5 separate regions of the Homo sapiens genome follow, and all the other regions are linked to region 3. The links are contacts of gene promoters, found by promoter capture Hi-C in blood cells and fetal thymus (Javierre and others, 2016). All regions are on one chromosome and are shown on one strand. Each heading gives the region's core, a stretch centred on a gene start or on the middle of the fragment in contact. The rest is flanking DNA. Distances are from core to core; before and after follow the strand shown. Region 1 overlaps CCDC69 (coiled-coil domain containing 69). Region 2 overlaps LOC124901115 (a long non-coding RNA gene). Region 3 holds the start of DCTN4 (dynactin subunit 4). Region 4 overlaps ANXA6 (annexin A6). Region 5 overlaps NDST1-AS1 (NDST1 antisense RNA 1).

The links. The method cuts DNA at HindIII sites, captures the fragments that hold promoters and counts their contacts. A CHiCAGO score of 5 or more calls a contact.
Region 1: a fragment that was not itself captured here is called in contact with the fragment with the promoter of DCTN4 in region 3 in 1 of 17 cell types (fetal thymus); the score reaches 5.0 in fetal thymus.
Region 2: a contact is called between a fragment that was not itself captured here and the fragment with the promoter of DCTN4 in region 3, in 1 of 17 cell types (naive CD8 T cells). The highest score is 5.3, in naive CD8 T cells.
Region 4: a fragment that was not itself captured here is called in contact with the fragment with the promoter of DCTN4 in region 3 in 4 of 17 cell types (naive CD8 T cells, naive CD4 T cells, fetal thymus and 1 more); the score reaches 7.3 in naive CD8 T cells.
Region 5: a fragment that was not itself captured here is called in contact with the fragment with the promoter of DCTN4 in region 3 in 1 of 17 cell types (neutrophils); the score reaches 6.5 in neutrophils.

Annotation. Positions count from the first base shown.
Region 1 is chr5:151,208,252-151,210,951 of GRCh38, reverse strand. All of the region lies in intron 1 of CCDC69 (coiled-coil domain containing 69), which reads left to right. Among named protein-coding and RNA genes, the nearest start is that of CCDC69, 14 kb to the left of the region's middle. The HindIII fragment of the contact is 3,784 bases long and covers 1-2,700 here.
Region 2 is chr5:151,247,686-151,250,385 of GRCh38, reverse strand. LOC124901115 (a long non-coding RNA gene) reads left to right here. Exons shown (of 3, transcript XR_007059003.1): 3 at 707-2,700. Among named protein-coding and RNA genes, the nearest start is that of GM2A, 4.1 kb to the left of the region's middle. The HindIII fragment of the contact is 3,862 bases long and covers 1-2,700 here.
Region 3 is chr5:150,757,742-150,760,441 of GRCh38, reverse strand. It overlaps DCTN4 (dynactin subunit 4), which reads left to right and starts at 1,425. Exons shown (of 13, transcript NM_016221.4): 1 at 1,425-1,583. The coding sequence starts at 1,449. RefSeq lists enhancers at 1,350-1,649, 2,080-2,149. The HindIII fragment of the contact is 18,997 bases long and covers 1-2,312 here.
Region 4 is chr5:151,122,961-151,125,660 of GRCh38, reverse strand. ANXA6 (annexin A6) reads left to right here. Exons shown (of 26, transcript NM_001155.5): 15 at 1,294-1,375; 16 at 2,650-2,700. Among named protein-coding and RNA genes, the nearest start is that of ANXA6, 33 kb to the left of the region's middle. RefSeq lists an enhancer at 1,316-1,816. The HindIII fragment of the contact is 3,901 bases long and covers 1-2,700 here.
Region 5 is chr5:150,478,070-150,480,769 of GRCh38, reverse strand. All of the region lies in intron 2 of NDST1-AS1 (NDST1 antisense RNA 1), which reads left to right. Among named protein-coding and RNA genes, the nearest start is that of NDST1-AS1, 6.6 kb to the left of the region's middle. The HindIII fragment of the contact is 7,537 bases long and covers 1-2,700 here.

The DNA.
Region 1 (2,700 bases), core at 146-2,645, 450 kb before region 3:
CTGTCACCCAGGGTGGAGTGCAGTGGCCCAATCTCAGTTCACTGCAACCTCCGCCTCCCAGGTTCAAACAAATCTCGTGCCTCAGCATCCCAAGTAGCTGAGATTACAGGCACGTGCCACCACACCTGGCTAATTTTTGTATTTTTAGTAGAGATGGGGTTTTGTCATGTTGGCCAGGCTGGTCTCAAACTCCTGGCTTCAAGTGATCCTCCCGCCTCGGCCTCCTAAAGTGCTAGGATTACAGGTGTGAGCTACCACACCTAGCTGAAACTGATCTTCTTGCGTGCCATTTGAAGGTGAGTAAATTGGTCGAACCTTCCAATATTAGACATGTAATATTAGATGTGTATAAAATTTTACAAATCAATATGTTTATTTTTTAATTTTAATTTTAATTTTTTATTTTTTGGGACAGGGTCTCACTCTGTCGCCCAGACTGGAGTGCAGTGGTGCGATCTTGGCTCACTGCAACCTCCACCTCCTGGGTTCAAGCAATTCTCCTGCCTCAGCTTCCCAAGTAGCTGGGGTTAGAGGCGCATGCCACTACCGCCTGGCTAATTTTTGTATTTTTAGTAGAGACGGGGTTTCACAGGTTGGCCAGGCTAGTCTCGAACTCCTGACCTCAAATGATCCACCCACCTCTGCCTCCCAAAGTGCTAGGATTATAGGCATGAGCCACCGCACCTGGCCTAAATCAATATATTTATTAAAGCAAATTAACCTGCAAATTAAAAAGTGGAAACAATTTAAACACTCAACAGTGAATGACTAAATTCATCCATAGGGATGTTCTGCTCATCATTAAAATTAACACATTTGCAGAATAGTTAATGCTGTGTAGTAAGTGCTCGTAATATATTTGAAAAAGTAAGATATGAGGAAGTATATGTAATATCATTGCATATGTATATGTAGATGAACAATATATGCCACCAGGTTATGGGGTTCTCTCTGGGTCGTGAGATTTTCTTTCTATATTTTCATGTATTTTCTGTACTTTCTACAACAAATGCCTACTAGTACTTTAACTGGAAGAAGATGTTTATAAATAATTTAAGTATTAAGAAATTGAGGCTGGGTACCTTGGCTCATGCCTGTAATCCCAGTACTTTGGAAGGCCAAGGCAGGCAAATCACTTGAGCCTAGGAGTCCGAGACCATCCTGAGCAGCATGGCAAAATTCCATCTCTACCAAAAATACAAAAATTAGCCAGGTGTGGTAGCACACGCCTGTAGTCCCAGCTACTTGGGAGGCTGAGGCAGGAGAATTGCTTGAGCCTGGGAGGCGGAGGTTGCAGTGAGCCCTGATCACACCACTGCACTCCAGCCTGGGCAACAGAGCAAGACCCCATCTCAAAAAAAAAAAGACAGAAGAAAAAGAAAGAAATTGGAATGGGGGTAGACTGGGGACAGATGGTGATAGCCTTAACTGCCATTCTGAAGGAGTTATCTTGTTTTGTCAAGAGCTGGGGACTCAAGTACAAGGCCACGTGCTGCCTGTGGTCTGAAAGCTGTTTGTGGAAAAGAGTTCTCCACCATTCTCTGGTGGTGGTTATCTGAAAGAAGGCAGCATTTCATGAGATTATGAACTTATTTCAGATGACAAAACTGAGACCCAGGGGCAGCCCAAGAGGTCTGCCAAAGCAGATGACGTGGGATCTTTGTTCTTGCCATGTTTGTGAAACATGGCAATCGTCTTATGCAATATTTGAGCTCTTAGTATGTGCAAGACACTGCAGTTGCATTATTTCATCTCATCCTAAAAGAGCCTCATGAGAAATCCGAGGCATGGAGAGGTCATACAGTCACACGGTGTTGGATTTAGTATTTGAACCCAGATCTGTGTGATTCTAGAATTCTGGAGTTCTTAACCACTCTGCTCTGCAGTCTCTGATATTCTCACACCTGGTTCTAATGCTGATTTGAACATTATGGCACAGTGTGACAGTGTCTTAAGTCTCCCTGAGCCTCAGTTTCCTCGCCTGTAGTGACCTTTACCTCACAGTGCTGTTGAGAGGAGCTGAGATGAGAGCTTAGAGTTTGAACACTATGGGATCATCCAGTTAAACCACCAGACGTCCTCATCCCCACCTCACAGAGGAGGAAGCAGAAGCCAGAGTGGGAAGGGATTTGCCCAAGTTTGTAACAGAGCTGGCACTAGAATCTAGGCCTTCTGGCTCCCATAAAAACATTGTCTGAGTTCAGCTAATCAGTCGTGGCAACAAGGAAGAGACAACCATTTATGTTTATCTCCCTTCTTCCTCCAGCCCAGGGTGGGGAGGCTGGCTGCTGTCACTTCCCCAGATTCCGGAGTTGACAGCTTCTCTGAGTCGTGCCTGGACCAGGCTTCCTCCTCTTCCCTGGAAAGGGAGGATTGAGTCTTCACCAGGGTGGTGGGGGAGCTAAATTGTCAGGTCTGCCCAGCCACTCAGCAGATTTGGGGCACGAGGACCTGGGGGAGGCCCCATGACTCCCTCAGTCCTCCAGGGGCTTACACATGCCAGGCTCTGTGCCCAGCACCATGGGGGAGAAGCAGGCTATTCTAGAAGACTTCCCTTGATACATCTTCCCTCCCCAGTGAGAAGCATGCTTTCTAGAAGTATTTCAGTGGTTCTTCAGTTTAGGACATTTTTAATAATTTTTGTCGAACATTTTCATAGCCTCTTCATAGTTTGACTTGTGTTTTTGTTTGTTTGTTTTT
Region 2 (2,700 bases), core at 108-2,607, 490 kb before region 3:
CCCTTCCCCCACTTGACTGGCTAAGGACAGAAAACCCACCTAGCTATGCAAAAAGGTTATATGAGTCAGAGGGTCCAGGCATGTCGTAGGTGGTCTGTGTGATGCATGGGGAGTGGGGGGAATTCATGAAAGGTAATCTATTATTGCCTAAATTGAGAGAGTTAAAGGGTTGCTTTGCCGGCTGCGGTGGCTCACGCCTGTAATCCCAGCACTTTGGGAGGCCGAGGCAGGCGGATCACGAGGTCAGGAGATTGAGACCATCCTGGCTAACACGGTGAAACGCCATCTCTACTAAATATACAAAAAATTAGCCAGGCATGGTGGTCGGCGCCTGTAGTCCCAGCTACTCGGAGGCTGAGGCAGGAGAATGGCATGAACCTGGGAGGCAGAGCTTGCAGCGAGCCGAGATCATGCCACTGCACTCCAGCCTGGGCAACAGAGCAAGACCCTGTCTCAAAAAAAAAAAAAAGTTGCTTTAAGTGGCATGGGAAAACCTTAAGGAAAGTTCACAGTAGGTCTTCAGTGGTGGAGGGAACCATTCCAAAGCAATGCCTGCACCTATCTAAGGTCAGAGACATCTAACAGGCTAAGTCAGGGCCCTAATGGGGAGATGCTCCCAGGGACCCCAGTCTGGGCCCAGAATTTTTCCAGGAGGATGCCTCAGGTAAAATTTGGGTCACCTGGTCAGTCCTCTTCTCTTTTCCAGACCACTGTGGGCAACTCTCTACCTATTCCACCTGATTCCCCGCTCGGCTACGTCCTCCACCATTGCGATCAATTTGACCCTGACAATCTAAAGAGAAAACATATAATTTTTTTCTGCAGTACTGTCTGGCTCCATTATGAGCTGCCCAGCCTGGAAAAAATGGGTAGTCAATGGTAGCCTTAATTATGACATCATCCTGCAATTAGACCTATTTTGCAAGAGACAGAGCACATGGTCAGAAATCTTGTACATGCAGACTTCCATGACGCTTTACCAAAACCTAACAATCTGTGAAACTCCCAGAACCCACCCCACAAAGGAAAGTTCTAAGGGAGAACTACATATTATAGATGACCCCCTCTTACAAGGGCCACCTGTCTCTCAGAGTGAACAGTGACCACCCCCATATAGCCCCTTGCAAGTGCTCCTGAGGCTCAACCCCAGGAGCAAACACCAGAGACCCTACTAAGTCCCCCTCACATTCGGAGGGGAACCCTGTATTCAGCTCTTCTTCCAGCCCTGCTACACCTTAGGGAAGTAGCAGGAGTTGAGGGGCCAGTCCTAGTGCAGGCCCCCTTCTCTATAACTAATATTCAACAATGTAAGGAAAAGCTAGGAAGCTGTTCTGAGAATCCTAGGAAATTTGCAGATGAGTTCCACACTTTGACCTTAGCCTTTGATCTCTCATGGAGAGATGGTCAATTCATTCTAGCAACCTGTTGGCACTCCCTCAGGAAAGGAACAAATCTTTGAGGCTGCCAGCAGGGAAGTGGATGAATTATCCACCTGAAACCCTCAGGGCAATTACCGAGGCCCAGACACAGTTCCCACTACTGATCCTAATTGAAACTATAACGCCCCCATGGGAATGAACCACCTGGCTAAATTTCTTGAGGCTGTCCTTGGAGGAATGAGAAAGGGATTAACTAAGGCAGTAAATTATGATAAAGTAAGGGAGGTTACATAAGGCAAGGAGGAAAATCCAGCCATGTTTTATGGTAGGCTGGAGGAAGCCTTTAAATATATACTAATCTGGACCCTTCTTCTCCCGAAGGCAAAATATTAATGGCACAGCATTTCATTAGCCAATCTGCCCCAGATATCAGACGTAAACTCCAAAAGCTACAGATGGGGCCACAAGCTAATCAAAATCAGCTTCTTAATACTGCCTTTATGGTGTATAACAATATGACCTGGAGGAAGGAAAAAGAGAACAGAGTAAAGAAAGACGGCAAGCCAAAATTATGGCAGCCATCATTGGTGATGCCCTGAATGCCCAAAGAGCATCTAAGGGAAACCCGAAGGACTATAAAGATAATACCAGCAAAGGCAAGTCTTGCTTCAAATGCAAGAAAAGCGGGCATTGGGCAAAGGAATGTACTAAGCCCCCGCCCTCCAGCTCCCCTCAGGCCCCTGCTGTCAACGCAAAGGCACCAGTCACGAACCCTGGCACTGGAGAATTGATTGCCTCTGCTCCCACTGAGGGGCTGGGTTAGGCAAAACTCTAGCAGTGCGAAAGGAGGAATCAGATGAAGACTGAAGGGGCCCGGGGTCTTCCTCACTGCCCCTGTCCAGGAACTTTGTAATTACTACTGGGGAGCCTGGAGTAACTCTGGATGTCACGGGCACCCAAATTCAGTTTCTTTTTGTTACAGGGGCAAATTACACTGTCCTTACTGCTTATGCAGGGAAACTTCCCTCCTGGTCCATGAGTGTTATGGGAATGGAAGGGAAGCCACAAACCAGATTTTTTACTCCTCCTTTGATTTGTCAATTTGAGAAACGAATCTTCCAACAGGAGTGCCTAGTAGTATCAAGCTACGCAATCCCCCTGCTGGGAAGAGAGATTATGGTTAAAATAAGGGCACTACTACAATTTAAGCATCACCCAGTGAAATTGCTAATAGTCAAAAATACAGACAATGTCCAAGACCACATTAATAAACAGGTTAACCTGCTGGCATTGTATACTAGAAAACTGAGGAAGGCTAAAA
Region 3 (2,700 bases), core at 176-2,675:
GCTGGAGGGAGTATACATAGGGGTTATACCTGCAAGCACTAGAGTCAGAGAGAAAAGGGTTCTACCTCCATCTATGAAACCTTATAGAGGAGTCACTGCACTTCCCTGTGCCTCAGTTTCCTGCTCTGTAAAATAGAAATAATGATAGCCACATGCTTTTTGGAGCTGTTGTAAGAATTAAATTAGACAATGTATGTAAAGTTTTGACACAGTGTGCTGCACTTAATAAGTGCTCAATAAATGTTTGCTAATAGTATTCAGTTCCCTTTCTTCTCAATCACCAACTCTAACGTCAGACAGGTAATAATACAACACTACTACAATTATAAAAATGTAGACCTGGTGGCAGGCAACAGAGGCTCCAGTTTCTGCTAGGCAGTTCTAGGTGGTCATTTTACATACTGGGGAGTCCCAGTTAGAGAAAGGGAGTCAGGCTAGTGGGACCAAGGGATAGCAAGAAGAGCAGATGCACTCTAAGTCTGCCTTTCTTCATGGTGCAGGACACGTAGCCCTCCTGTGCAAATAACTCACAATCTTCCTGCACTCAGCTATCACGAGACACATGCAAGTTAGCTCCCTGTAACCTTGGAGTTCTCGGTACTGCACAGCACTCTGCAGCCCAAGAACCATCGGATAAAATCTCCAGCAAGCCTTTGTTTCCTTGAAGTCAGCTCCTCTCTGGCTGGTCTGCCCATTGCAACCTTTCAACGTATTTTCATACCTTCTCTAATAAATCTGCATTTCTTTACCTAAAACTGTTGATAAATTATTTTCCCACCCATGTAATACCAGTCTCACGTAGTCGCTGCTCACCCAAGAGGCAGACCTGAGCCTTAGTTTACACATTAGAAAAACGTAGACGCCTACCAACATTGTTCATTCATTGATTTCATTCCCTCCTTTTCATACTTATTGAAGGTCCACAATACAGACTTAGACCTAACGCTAACTATGTACTCAAAAACCTGCGTTTCAAATGAGATAATGTATGTGAAAGTTCCCAAAGGCCATTGGCAAGACTCAGAAGACAGTGCTGGTGTGACTCCTGTCTTGCAGTCCCCACGGAGCCCTGTCCCTTTGAGACCTTCCATTTGTCTCCTGGATGCTCGCCTGTTAAGTGGGGCAGAGGAGGCCGTCGTAAATAAGACAAAAGATCAGGCTTCCATTCTGGAAGAAAAGAATAAAAGGAGCTCACTGAGTCCAGACCTAATGGCAGTAAGGGCAGTGGACGCTCACAAAAGCGCTGGGGGACGGGCCCAGAGTTGGGGAGAAAACAGGGATCCCAGCTGCGCACGCGCGCTCTGGTTTTCGACGGGCGCAGAGCCGGACGAGGTGGGAAACCTAACGTCAAAGTCTACGTAGGAAGTCGTAGGGAAGGCAGCGAGGAAGACGCTGGCTCTCGGGTCACGTGATGCGCCGGGAGCGTCATCGCCTCCTCCCTCCCCAAGATGGCGTCCTTGCTGCAGTCGGACCGGGTTCTCTATCTAGTCCAGGGAGAAAAGAAGGTTCGGGCCCCGCTCTCGCAACTCTACTTCTGCCGCTATTGTAGCGAACTGCGGTCGCTGGAATGTGTGTCTCACGAGGTAACAGAGTCGCCCTATAGCGAGTATGTGGGGTGGGGGGGGCGCGGCGTTCATGCTAGTCACTGCCACCGGAAGGCTGGAGCTATTTTCCTTCCTTACTGATTGGTTATGTCTTCCGTCACTCGGGTTTGCCTGCGATTTAATTTGCTTCTAATCTGTCACTTGGAAAGGAGGAGCAGCCTCGGGTGGGACTGAGCGGATCTTCTGGTTCTAGAGCGGCCTCTGATTGGACAAACTTGACTTAGGGACCGTGTCTGTCTGCGATGGGGCTTGGTAATTGGGTGGACTACGGAGAAAGGTCTGGGGGTGCTTAGTTCAGGCCACTTAAGGGGCGAAAAACTGCCTTTCCAGGATTTATTGCGAGGATGGAGGGAGGCGCAGGCGTTCTCATTCATAGTTCTCCCATCCTGAAAGTTCTGTTCCTCTTTTGTCCAGAAACTGGGCCCTCGTCAGACTGCCTTGCCCTGTTCCTGACTCAGGCCAAGGCCTGCAGCCGGGAAGAGGTTGGGGCGGCGTGAGTTATGTGAAAAGCGCTCAGAATACAGTATGTCATGTAAGAAGCTGAAAGTGTATTTATGGAGCTAGAGGACAATGCTGTCCTTCCCTGGCACAAGTGGGCGTCCGAAGTTGGATTTTTCAAAAAGAAGACCCCGGCCAGTAAAAAGTCACCAAATAACAAAACCCCAAAACTTCTGCAGCGCTTGGCACATCTTGTTTATTCAGTAAGCTTTAGGGATTAAAAGGCGAGTAAGACATAAAATGCGCTGTTTAATAAGCCATAGTCTTAGTGAAGAAAAAGCTGATAGTAGTAATAGTTGCTGCTTATTCGATACTTGCTATATGTCATGTGCTTTATGTAATCTTCAAACCAATTTAAGTGGATACTTTTTTTAAAAAATTTTTTTTACAGGTAAAGAAACAGATACAGAGTGTTCGCTGTAAGTCACACAGCCAGTAATTTGGGGGTGGGAAGGAGGACCTGGATTTGAATCTAAACAGCCTAACTCAGAGTGTTTTTTACTGAAGATCCCGGGACTGTTAAAATAAATGCATATGAAAACACATACTATAAGCCATTTTATGTGTTATTAATAACTTATTTTATTGAAGATACTTT
Region 4 (2,700 bases), core at 92-2,591, 370 kb before region 3:
TGAGAAAGGCACTCCTTTCCAATTTCATCAGCGTTTCTGATTACGTCAAAGAGGAAGTCTTGGTTTGGTGCCGCCGTCTCTGCAACACTTGCTGATTTTCCTTTTTCACAAAGAGAAAGCTGAGAGAGCTCGCTTTAAGTTTCAGAGCTTCTGGCAAGTAGAGGCATCATGTTAAATTTCATGGTATATCACCTCTTTTGTTTTTATTATGTTGATTTTTGTGGTAAATTGTCAGTTTATGATACATGGTATCAACTTCCTAATTCATGGTAGTTATATAAAATTAATTTCATCCATTCCTTTTTTTTTTTTTTTTTTTGAGACAGGGTCTCACTCTGTTATCCAGGCTGGAGTACAGTGGCATGATCATGGCTCACTGCCACCTCCCCAGGCTCAGGTGATCCTTCCACTTAGCTTCCCAAGTAGCTGGGACCTCAGGTGGACACCACCACACCTGGCTAATTTGTGTAGAGACAGGGTTTCACCATGTTGCCTGGGCTCATCTTGAACCAATGGGCTCAAGCGATCCTCCTGCCTTGGCCTCCCAAAGTGCTGAGATTACAGGCATGAGCCATTGTGCCAAGCCTCATTAATCCACTTAACAATTATTTTTTGAGTGTGCCTATTATGTCAGACACTGTTGTAGGCACCTGGGATATGTAACAGGATAAAACGGATACAATTCCTTGCCTTTTGGGAGTAATTTTAAATGCACTTCAAAAATTGATGCATTTAAGTAGACAGAAAAGAAGTTGAATTACATAAAACCATTAAGAGATGGCATAGTGTGTGTGCTAATTTGGAATAGTGAAAGTCCTTTAGGAGTGACTGAAATTTGGGAAACTCTGTTCTGGTATTTCAGAACTTTTCTGCTGCCTTTTCAGGGGGAATGACTCTTTAAGAGGCAGAGGGGGCCTCGGGGGCAGGGTAGGATTCAGAAGAATTGGGGATGCCCCGGTGGAATAAGCAGCCAAGGGGCACTAGAACCGAGGCAGATCCCGTGGCAGGCGGGAGCCTAGCCAATTTCTCTTGATCAGGACTTGCCCTGCTCCCAGCCCTGAGTCCCTCTCTCCCTCTCTCTATATCTTTCTGTCTCTTTCTCTCTCTCTCTCTCTCTCTCTCTCAGCTCTCGTGCAGGGTCTGTCTGCTGTGGCTTCACCTCTGCCTCTTTCCCCACCCACGCCGCTTGGTTTGGGCTCATGGGGTGAGCTTCCCACCCTCGCATGCTGTCTTTCAGCCTGGTCCCCAGGGGGGCCTTCAGACACCTGCTGAGTCTCTTTCTGCTTCTCACAGCTGAAGGGAACTGTGCGCCCAGCCAATGACTTCAACCCTGACGCAGATGCCAAAGCGCTGCGGAAAGCCATGAAGGGACTCGGTATGGGGGATGGGAAGGGAGCAGGGTTGGTCTCCAGGGCAGCAGGTGTGGTGGGTTTGGCCGTGGGCTGGCAGGGGATGGAGTGAGGTTTCAAATTAGAGTCTGCAGGATGAGGAAGGCTTGATCTCAAGTTTCCACCCTCCTAGCTCCCAGAGTATAGAGAGGAGGGGCAGGAGAGGGTTCATAAGGAACTTGGCAGAAGCCCTTTCCAGGGACCAAGGTGTCCCCCAGCCTCCTGGAAGCAGTATCCTGGCACTGAAGAAAGTACCAGGTCACAAAATTGGCATGGTGCCCTGGCTCTGCTGCTGACTCACCGTGTGACTCTGGGTGAGCCTCTCCGCCACTCTGGGTCTGAATTTCCCTATGTGTAAAATCAGGGCTGTGGACCCTGGAACCCAAGAGCCCTCCCTCATTCTGTGGTGGGAGTGTGCCCTGCTGGGCAGGTCTTTCAGACCTATATTTGGCACCAGTGGGAAGAGTACTGCACCCACAGGTTCAGATCAGCTGGGCCTGTGCTCAGAAAGTCCAGCCTGGGACAGGCCATCTAGGGTTTGGCTTTCTTTGCCTTTCTGCCCCATCTGTCTGACAGCAACTCCCAGGAGGCTTTAGGTTAAGTCCATCACCCTCCTGAGCCTCCTTTCCATGTGTCTCATGGGAATGATGATACCTGCCAAGCTCGCCTGGGACTGTAGGATGCTAGAGGTAAAAATGCCATGAAAGACCCCTGTGCTGGGTCTGTGGTTGATGGCATTAATCTGAGAAGCAGGAAGTGATATTCTAATGCCTTCCAGAGTCAACCTGCTGTGGTTAGAGGGACTCAGGGTCCAGCTTCCAGAGAGCTGAAGAGAAAGGACATAGAGTTGCTAACAGGACTTGGACTGTCAGGGTTGGAAGGATCCCTTGGTGACTACTCCAGCCTCTTCATGTTACAGATGTGGAAACCAAGTCCCATCAAGGGAAGGGGACTTGCCCAGGGTGGGCAGCCATTGCCAGAGCCAGAACTAGAACTCAGAGGCACTGACTCCCAACCCAGTGCTCTCTACCTCCCAGCTGTCCTTTTTCCTCAGCGTGTCAAAAGGAAAGGGAGGGAGGAGTCCAGCAGAAATCAGTGGCCTGAGCCATAGGCAAGCGGACTGCAGGGACTCAGGAGCACATGGCCGCTTAGCCAGGCTTCTACCCTGACAAAGATCGATGAGGGGCCATCAGTGGGCGGTGCATGGGGAAAGCCGAGAGCCACAGGCCTTCTTCTGAGGCATGTGGCTTTGGTGACTCAGGGACTGACGAAGACACAATCATCGATATCATCACGCACCGCAGCAATGTCC
Region 5 (2,700 bases), core at 60-2,559, 280 kb after region 3:
TGACTTTGGGCCAGTTTTTCAAACTTTCTGTGGTCAGCCCTCCTCTCTAAAGTGTAGATAATAATAGTACAACATACCTCCCAGGGCTGTTGTGAGAATTACATAAGTTAAATATGTAAAGCCCTTAGTGTGTTATCTGTTATAGGACAAGCACTGTACAGTTACAGTTGTCCCTCAGTATCCATGGGGGAATGATTCCAGGACATTTCATGGATATCAAAATGTGTGGATATCCCTGATATAAAATGGCTTAATATTTGCATATAACCTATGTACATCCTCCCATATACTTTAAATCATCTCTAGATTACTTGTAATACCTAATACAATGTAAATTGTATGCAAAGAATTGCTATATTTTTTAGAGAATAATGACCCAAAAAAAGTCTGCACATGTTCAATACAGACAATTTTTTAAAATATGTTTTCGATCCATGGTCGGTCGAATCCACAGATTCAGAATCTGTGGGTATAGAGGGTTGACTGTTTAAATGTTAGATGAATGATTCATTGTGATCCTTTAGGTCTGAGATTTTTTTTTTTCTTTTTTTCTTTTTTCTTTTTTTCCTGCAGGCTGGAGTGCAGTGGTGTGATCACGGCTCCCTGCAGCCTTGACCTTCCAGGCTCAAGCAATCCTCCCACCTCAGCCTCCCAAGTAGCTCGGACTTCAGGCATATGCCACCAAGCCCAGCTAATTTTTAATTTTTTATAGAGACAGAGTTTCACCATGTTGCCCAGGCTGGTCTTGAACTCCTGAGCTCAAGCAATCTGCCTGTCTCTGCCTGCCTCGGCCTCCTAAAGTGCTGGGATTACCAGCCTTTTTTTTTTTTTTTTTTTTTTTTAAATGTGTCAGGCTCTCGCTGTGTCATCTGGGCTGAAGTACGGTGAGCAAGATCACAGCTTGCTGCAGCCTCAAACTCTTGCACTCAAGCAATCCTCCCATCTCAGCATCTCTAGTATCTGGGACCACAGGTACATGCCACCATCCCCAGCTATAAGTCTCCAATTAAACTTAATTTCCTCCTGGGCTTTTCCTCAGACCCTAATCCAAACCAGGCTTCCTGTATACACTTCACATCTCCCTCTTTATCACCCTCGTAGTTACCTGTCAGCTGCCACTCTCTCCCTCTAGATTGTGAGCTCCATGTGGGCAGGACTGTGTGTGTCTCAGACGCCCTGAGCCCCAGTGCCCCAAACAGCACCAGGCACATTGTAGGCAACCAGCACATACTTGCTGAATAAACAGATGAAATGAAAGTTCACAGGTTCATTATGAAACAGAGGACACTGTCTACCTAACAAAATGCCCATCAATGGTACTTCACTCTTCATTCAACAATTATTAGTGCCTCTTCTATAGTCTTCCTCACACCATCCTGGTGGCAGAAGGGAAATAGGGAGACACAGAGATGAATAAGATAGATGTGGTTCCTGTCCTCAAAGACTATACGGTCCACTGTGAGAAAGTGCCGTAATGCATAGGAAGATACAACGCAGTGTAACCACGTTGTTTTAGTCTGTAACAATTTTGTTTCCTAGGAGGCTGGGGCTGGTCTTTGGAACAATGAAAGTGAAAAGTAACTGAAAACAAACACTGTTGCCTACTTCAGCCAGCACCACCAGTTCCCAGCAAGCTACTTTTCTGTCTCTCTCCCTCCCTCCCTCCCTTCTTCCTTTCTTTCTTTTTTTAACAGGGTCTTGTTCTGTGGCCAAGGTTGGAGTGCAGTGGTGTGATCATGGCCCACTGCAGCCTGGACCTCCCAGGCTCAAGCAATCCTCCCACATCAGCCACCTGAGTAGCTGGAATTACAGGCACGTGCCACCTAATTTAAAAAGAAAAATTTTGCAGAGGCTGGGCACAGTGGCTGAGCTGAGGCAGGAGGATCACTTGAGCCCAGGAGTTCAAGACCAGCCTGGGTAACATAGGGAGATCCCGTCTCTACATACATACATACTCTAGGCATAGTGTTGTGCGCCTGTGGTCCCAGGTACTTGAGAGGCTGAGGTAGGAGGATCACTTGAGCCTGGAAGATCGAGGCTGCAGTGAGCCATGATGACATCACTGCACTCTAGCCTGGGTAACAGGGTGAGACCTTGTCTCTTAAAAAAAAAAGAATTGCCGGGTGCAGTGTCTAATGCCTATAATCCCAGAACTTTGGGAGGCCAAGGCGGGCGGATCACCTGAGGTCAGGAGTTCAAGACCAGCCTGGCCAACATGGTGAAACCTGGTCTCTACTAAAAATACAAAAATTAGCCAGGCATGGTGACGCACGTATGTAATCCCAGCTACTCGGGAGGCTGAGGCAAGAGAATCGCTTGAACCTGGGAGGCAGAGGTTGCGGTGAGCCGAGATTGCGCCACTGCACTCCAGCCTGGGTGACAGAGCAAGACTCCATCCGTTTCAAAAAAAAAAAAAAAAGTCCAGGCGCGGTGGCTCACGCCTGTAATCCCAGCTCTTTGGGAGGCCGAGGCGGGTGAATCACGAGGTCAGGAGTTCGAGACCAGCCTGGCCAACATGGTGAAACCCCATCTCTATTAAAAATACAAAAAAAAAAATTAGCCGGGCATGGTGGCGGGTGCCTGTAATCCCAGCTACTTGGGAGGCTGACGCAGGAGAATCGCTTGAACCTGGGAGGCGGAGGTTGCAGTGAGCTGAATTCACGCCACTGCACTCCAGCCTGGGCAACAAGAGCGAAACTC